Linked DNA regions of Homo sapiens: region 2 is linked to region 1. Evidence: promoter capture Hi-C in human tissues and cell types (Jung and others, 2019). All regions are on one chromosome and are shown on one strand. Each heading gives the region's core, a stretch centred on a gene start or on the middle of the fragment in contact. The rest is flanking DNA. Distances are from core to core; before and after follow the strand shown.

Region 1 (3,175 bases), core at 254-2,753:
TGTTTAAGACAGGGTCTCGCTCTGTCGCCCAGGCTGGAGTGCAATGGCGCAATCACAACTTACTGCAGTCTCGAACTCCCCGGCTCAAATGGTCCTTCCACCTCAGCCTGGGAATACAGCCGCATGCAACCAGCCCCAATTAATTCTTGTATTTTTTTTTGTAGAGATGGGGATTCACCGTGTTGCCCAGGCTGGTTTCAAACTCCTCAGCTCAAGCCATCTGCCCGCTTCGGCCCCCCGATAGGGATTATAGGCGTGAGCCACTATAATAGCGCCTAGCCTGTTTTTGTTAGTAGGAATAACAGTACTTCCCAGAACTCAAAAATCTAGGAGGCATAAGAAAAACACTGTAGAACCCTAGAATGTTCTAGTCACACATCCAGCAAACATTTATTGAGCATTTACTATGTGCCAGGCACTATCCAGAAGGCTGCAGATGCAGTGGAACGAGGCAGACATGGTCCTCGACCTCGGAGTTGACTTTCTAGTAGGATATTATAAACTGATCGGTACTTATGAATCATCTATTTAGTCTAGATGTTCTCAATATGGCTGCATGACAGATTCTCCCAAGTAGTTTAAAGACAGACTTTCGGTTTCACGCCCATTTCTCCCTCCACTGCAGATTCAGATTCAGATTCAGTGCGTTTAGGTGGGATCCAGGAATCTGCATTTTCATAAACGTTCCGAGTGGTTACGAGCTGCAACCAGGTTTGGGTACCCCGACCTAGGCTATGTTCCAGTTACCCACAGGAAACGGCTCCAAGCCGCCCCCACGGGGGCGAGGCGCGGGCGGCCTTACCGTGGCGGTAGGGGTTATAGAGCGCCATCGCCGCGGAGCCGGCGGCCAACAGCCCTTTCTGCAGCGGGGAGGTGGGGAGGTGGTGCGAGTATAGCGGGCCGGCGCCGTCGCTCCTAGCCCGGAGGGGCATTTCTGCGGGGCAAGAAAAAGGCCGAGGTCAGAGGAGCCGGGCGCCCTCAGGCTCCTTCCCGCCTGCGCCCAGAACCCGGCGCCACTTGCCTGCCGCAGGCCGCTGTAGGCCCGGGAGCCCGCAGAGCCGACGGAGGACAGGGCGCAGCAGAGTCGCCATGGCAGCGGGCGTCCGCGGAGGATGGGCGGGTACGAAGAACGCCGCGATTCTGTCAGGCGACGGAGCGTCGGAGGGGTCAAAACTCACTGAAAAACCGATTCTGACGGCGTAGCCTACGGCCTTTCGAGGGGAAACATCGCTTCACGGGCAGAAGGCATGTAGGCCAAGTAGGCGAAGGAAACGCACGCGAACTGTCTACCGTCTACGTCCACCGATCCAAGACTCTCGCCATGTCACCTCGCCCCAGAAAGTGTCTGCAAAGGACACGCAACCACGCTCACTCAGCGCCGGGCCCTATTTCCTTCTCCACAGCCGGTTTTCCCCGAAGACTATAAAATGCGAACCTCTTCCGGCTGTGGAACATGGCGGCGCCCGTGGAAAGGACCACATTTGGGGGCGGGGCCTGGCGGTACTTCCGTCCAGGTCCAGCGGGTGCTGTGATCTTCAAGTATGGGGTCTGCTGGCTTGTCGCGGCTGCATGGGCTTTTCGCGGTCTATAAGCCCCCGGGGCTAAAATGGAAGCACCTGCGGGATACAGTGGAGCTACAACTTCTGAAGGGTGAGTGCCTCGAACCAGACCCACGTTCCCGCTCTCGTTCTCTTGGAAGTCCATCTCCGCTTCTGGTCCTTACCCCAAAACAAAATCACGTGACCTATTCACCTGGGCAGAGCGCTTTCCCAAACGCCTGTTCTCTGTGCTTTCTTACTCCTCACTTTCCTCTGTTTTCCGAGGGGGAAACTGACTCAGTATTGTTCCTTGTCACACGGTTACTACGTTGTAGAGTCTGTTTGAATCCGCCTGTTTCTTAACTACTGCTATACTGCCCTCTGCACCATGGGCTTCTGCTTTGTCTTCTACATCATACTTCCCTGTTGTCTAATCCCCCAAGTGTTTGGACAGAACAAGATATTCCTGGTCAGCATCGTGGTGCACGCCTGTAATCCCAGCTACTCTGGAGGCTGAGGCAGGAGGATCGCTTGAGCCCAAGAGTTTGACGTTACAGTGAGCTATGATGGCGCCATTGCACTTCAGCCTGGGCTACAGAACGAGGCCCTGTCTCTTAAAAAATATTTTATATGTACATATATTTGTATGTATGTGTGTATATATTATCTCTGTGTGTTCAGGTCTCAATGCCAGGAAGCCTCCCGCTCCTAAACAGCGTGTTCGCTTCTTGCTGGGCCCCATGGAAGGCAGCGAAGAGAAGGAGCTGACCCTCACAGCCACCAGCGTACCCTCTTTCATCAACCATCCACTGGGTAAGGCAGATTTAAGCAGGATCCTGTGTGTCACTTCCCAGGAAATCCCTGAGCCGAGTCAGTGTCCCAGTGCTCAGATTCCTGTGCCAGGCCCTTGAAGGTCCACAGAGGAGTGAGGTATTAGACCAGGAATTGGCAGATTTCCTTGGAAAGGGCCAGATACTGAATGTTTTAGTTTTCAGGCCATGTGATTTCCGTTGGAACTGCTCAACTCTGCCAATGTAGTGCCAAACAGCTATAGACAGTATCTAAAGGAATGAGCCTAGCTGTATTCCAATAGAACTTTATGAATATTCATATTTGAACTTCAGGTAATTTTCACGTGTCACTAAGTACAGTTGCCTCTGAGTCCATGAGTTCCACATCCCATGATCCAGCTTCAGATTGGCAGTATTTGGGAAGAAAAACACAAAGTTCCAAAAAGCAAAACTTGAATTTGCTGTGCACCTAGTACTGTGTTGAATCCACTCAAGGTGATGCATAGGCATTATATTAGGCATTATAAGTAATCTAGCTAGGCGTGGTGGCTCACGCCTGTAATCCCAGCATTTTGAGAGGCCGAGGAGGGTGGATCATGAGGTCAAGAGATCGAGACCATCCTGGCCAACATGGTGAAACCCCGTCTCTACTAAAAATACAAAAATTAGCCGGGAGTGGTGGCAGGCGCCTGTAGTCCCAGTTGCTCAGGAGGCTGAGGCAGGAGAATCACTTGAACCCGGGAGGCGGAGGTTGCAGTGAGCCGAAATTGTGCCACTGCACGCCAGCCTGGCAACAGAGCGAGACTCCGTCTCAAAAAAAAAAAGGTAATCTAGAGATGATTTAAA
Region 2 (3,175 bases), core at 184-2,683, 200 kb before region 1:
CAGTAAAGACAGGCATAAGAAATTATAAAAGTATTAATTTGGGGAACTAATAAATGTCCATGAAATCTTCACAATCCATGTTCTTCTGCCATGGCTTCAGCCAGTCCCTCCATTTGGGGTCCCTGACTTCCCGCAACAGTGCCCAGCTTTTTTTTTTTTTTTTGGAGTCTCGCTCTGTCGCCCAGGCTGGAGTGTAGTGGTGCAATCTTGGCTCACTGCAAACTCCGCCTCCTGGGTTCAAGCGATTCTCCTCCCTCAGCCTCCCAAGTAGCTGGGACTACAGGTGCCTGCCACCATGCCTGGCTAATTTTTGTATTTTTAGTAGAGACGGGGTTTCACTATGTTGGCCAGGCTGGTCTCGAACTCCCGACCTCGTGATCCATCCACCACGGCCTCCCAAAGTGCTGGGATTACCAGTGCAAGCCACCATGTCCAGCTATTTTATTTTTATTTTTTATTTTTTAGAGACGGATTCTCAACTCTGTCACCCAGGCTGGAGTACAGTGGTGCGATTTTGGCTCACTGCAACCTCCACCTCCCAGGTTCGAGTGATTGTCCAGCCTCAGCCTCCTGAGTAGCTGGGATTACAGGCGTGCACCACTATGCCTGCCTAATTTTTGTATTTTTAGTAGAGACAGGGTTTTACTGTGTTGGCCAGGCTGGTGTCAAACTCCTGACCTCAAGTGATCTGCCTGCCTCGGCCTCCGAAAGTGCTGGGATTACAGGTGTGAGCCAACAGGCCCGGCCCTGTGCTGTAATGATTTTAAAACAGATCTGCAAATTGTCTGACAATCCTTCCATACCCTCTACTTCAACCTGAGTGGACTTTATGACTACCGTGACTAACAGAATACGGAAAAAAAAAAAAATAGGCCAGGCACGTGAGTTTTTTTTAAGAAAATGAATAAACTGTCCAGAAACAGCTAATCAGTATGGGAACTAGTATTCCAAAACAATATGCTGGCACTTAGGAAGTCCTAAAGCTTAATAACCTTGTTTCTGATTATTCCCCTTGAATCTCTGATCTGATTACTAGCAATAAGGATCTTTAGATAACTGAGGAATCTCTATATCCTAAAAGGGATCAAGATGAACAAATAAAAAATAATGAATCCAGAAGGACATGTATATCAAGGAACACAAGTGAATCTGAAAAAGAGCTCTGAATATGATAAGAAATGAGAATAAGATGCTCTGAAAAAGGAAGAAGTGGAGAATACAAAAAAACTCATGAAAATTAGACATAATAAATACATATATATTTTTTCAATCAACAGGTGGAGAATAAAATATAGAAATCTTCTAGAAAACAAAACAATAAGACAAAAGGAAAATGAAAGAAAGAATAGGACATATAGAGGATTAACTTAGGCAATGGAGAGGTGAACTAATCAAGGGGAAAAATTTCCAAAGATGCAGGAAATAAATCTTTGAATTAAAACAACTCTGATATGCAGAATTAGTCGTTTCTCACCATCTCCATTGCTACCACCCTACTCTAAGCAACCACCATCTTTCACCCAGATTACAACAATGTTCCAAATATTTTACTTATTTCTCTTGTTTACTTCTGTCTCTTCCCACCACAATATAAGCTCTATGTCTATAATGTTTACTGTTTTATCTAGACCTGGAACAGCATCTAGCACATAGGTGCTCAGCAAATATTTATTGACTCAATGACCAATGAGGCAAGATGTTAGAAGACTTTCATTTTCTTTTTCTTTTTTTTTTTTGAGATAAAGTATTGCCCTGCTGCCCAGGCTAGAGTGCAGTGGCACAATCTTGGCTCACTGCCACCTCTGCCTCCCGGGTTCAAGTGATTCTCCTGCCTCAGCCTCCCCAGTAACTAGTATTATAGGCATGTGCCACCATGCCCGGCTAATTTTTGTATTTTTAGTAGAGATGGGGTTTCGCCATGTTGGCCAGGCCAGTCTGGAACTCCTTATCTCAGGTGATCCACCTGCCTCACCCTCCCAAAGTGCTGGGATTACGGGCATGAGCCTCCGTGCCTGGCCAAGACTTTCATTTTCTAAATTCCTGTACTCTGAAACATTTTTACAAGATCATGCATTGCTTTCCTAATTAAAAAAAAATACATGCTGGGCGCAGTGGCTTATGCCTGTAATCCCAGCACTTTGGGAGGCTGAGGTGGGTGGATCACCTGAGGTCAGGAGTTTGAGACCAGCCTGGCCAACACGGTGAAACCCCGTCTCTACTAAAAAATACAAAAATTAGCCAGGCGTGGTGGCAGGCGCCTGTAATCTCAGCTACTTGGGAGGCTCAGGCAGGAGAATTGCTGGAACCCAGGAGGCGGAGGTTGCAGTGAGCCAAGATTGCACCACTGCACTCCAGCCCGGGCTGACAACAGCAAGACTCTGTCTCAAAAAAACAAAAACAAAAAACAGGCCGGGCACGGTGGCTCATGCCTGTAATCCCAGCACTCTGGGAGGCCGAGGCGGGCAGATCACGAGGTCAGAAGATCAAGACCGTCCTGGCTAACACGGCAAAACCCTGTCTCCACTAAAAATACAAAAAATTAGCTGGGCGTGGTGACAGGCACCTGTAGTCCCAGCTACTTGGGAGGCTGAGGCAAGAGAATAGCATGAACCTGGGAGGCGGAGCTTGCGGTGAGCCGAGATGGTGCCACTGTACTACAGCCTGGGCAACAGAGCAAGACTCCATCTCAAAAACAAAAACAAAAACAAAATACAATCAAATAAATTAATTAAAATAGTGCTGCTATTTTTTCAAGAGGCTAAGGTCCTGACTGGGCATCGTGGCTCATGCCTGTAATCCCAGCACCTTGGGAGGCTGAGGCAGGTGAATCACCTGAGGTCAGGAGTTCGAGACCAGCCTGACCAACATAGTGAAACCCCGTCTCTAGTAAATAGAAAATAAAGTAGCTGGGTGTGGTGGCGCGAGCCTGTAATCCTAGTTACTTGGGAGGCTGAGGCAGGAGAATCACTTGAACCTGGGAGGTGGAGGTTGCAGTGAGCCAAGATTACACCACTGTAGTCCAGTCCAGCCTGGGCAACAAGAGCAAAAACTCCACCTCAAAAAAAAAAAAAAAGAGGCTAAGGTCCCATTTTCTCAGAATAAGCTTATCTAACAATCCCAGACCATTTCCAAATTTTGGAGAAGTAAATGGAAGCCAGAAAAGGCTAAGTAATTT

What was found. The method cuts DNA at HindIII sites, captures the fragments that hold promoters and counts their contacts. A contact is called where the count stands out against the background at its distance.
Region 2: a contact is called between a fragment that was not itself captured here and the fragment with the promoter of TRUB2 in region 1, in 1 of the 25 tissues and cell types used here (pancreas).

The regions. Positions count from the first base shown.
Region 1 is chr9:128,320,775-128,323,949 of GRCh38, reverse strand. TRUB2 (TruB pseudouridine synthase family member 2) reads left to right here and starts at 1,503. Exons shown (of 8, transcript NM_015679.3): 1 at 1,503-1,650; 2 at 2,220-2,351. The coding sequence starts at 1,542. It overlaps COQ4 (coenzyme Q4), which reads right to left and starts at 1,111. Exons shown (of 7, transcript NM_016035.5): 1 at 1,022-1,111; 2 at 803-934. The coding sequence starts at 1,091. RefSeq lists a silencer at 824-883 and an enhancer at 1,264-1,803. The HindIII fragment of the contact is 10,812 bases long and covers 1-3,175 here.
Region 2 is chr9:128,515,851-128,519,025 of GRCh38, reverse strand. The region is part of intron 3 of GLE1 (GLE1 RNA export mediator); the gene reads right to left. Among named protein-coding and RNA genes, the nearest start is that of GLE1, 13 kb to the right of the region's middle. The HindIII fragment of the contact is 4,090 bases long and covers 1-3,175 here.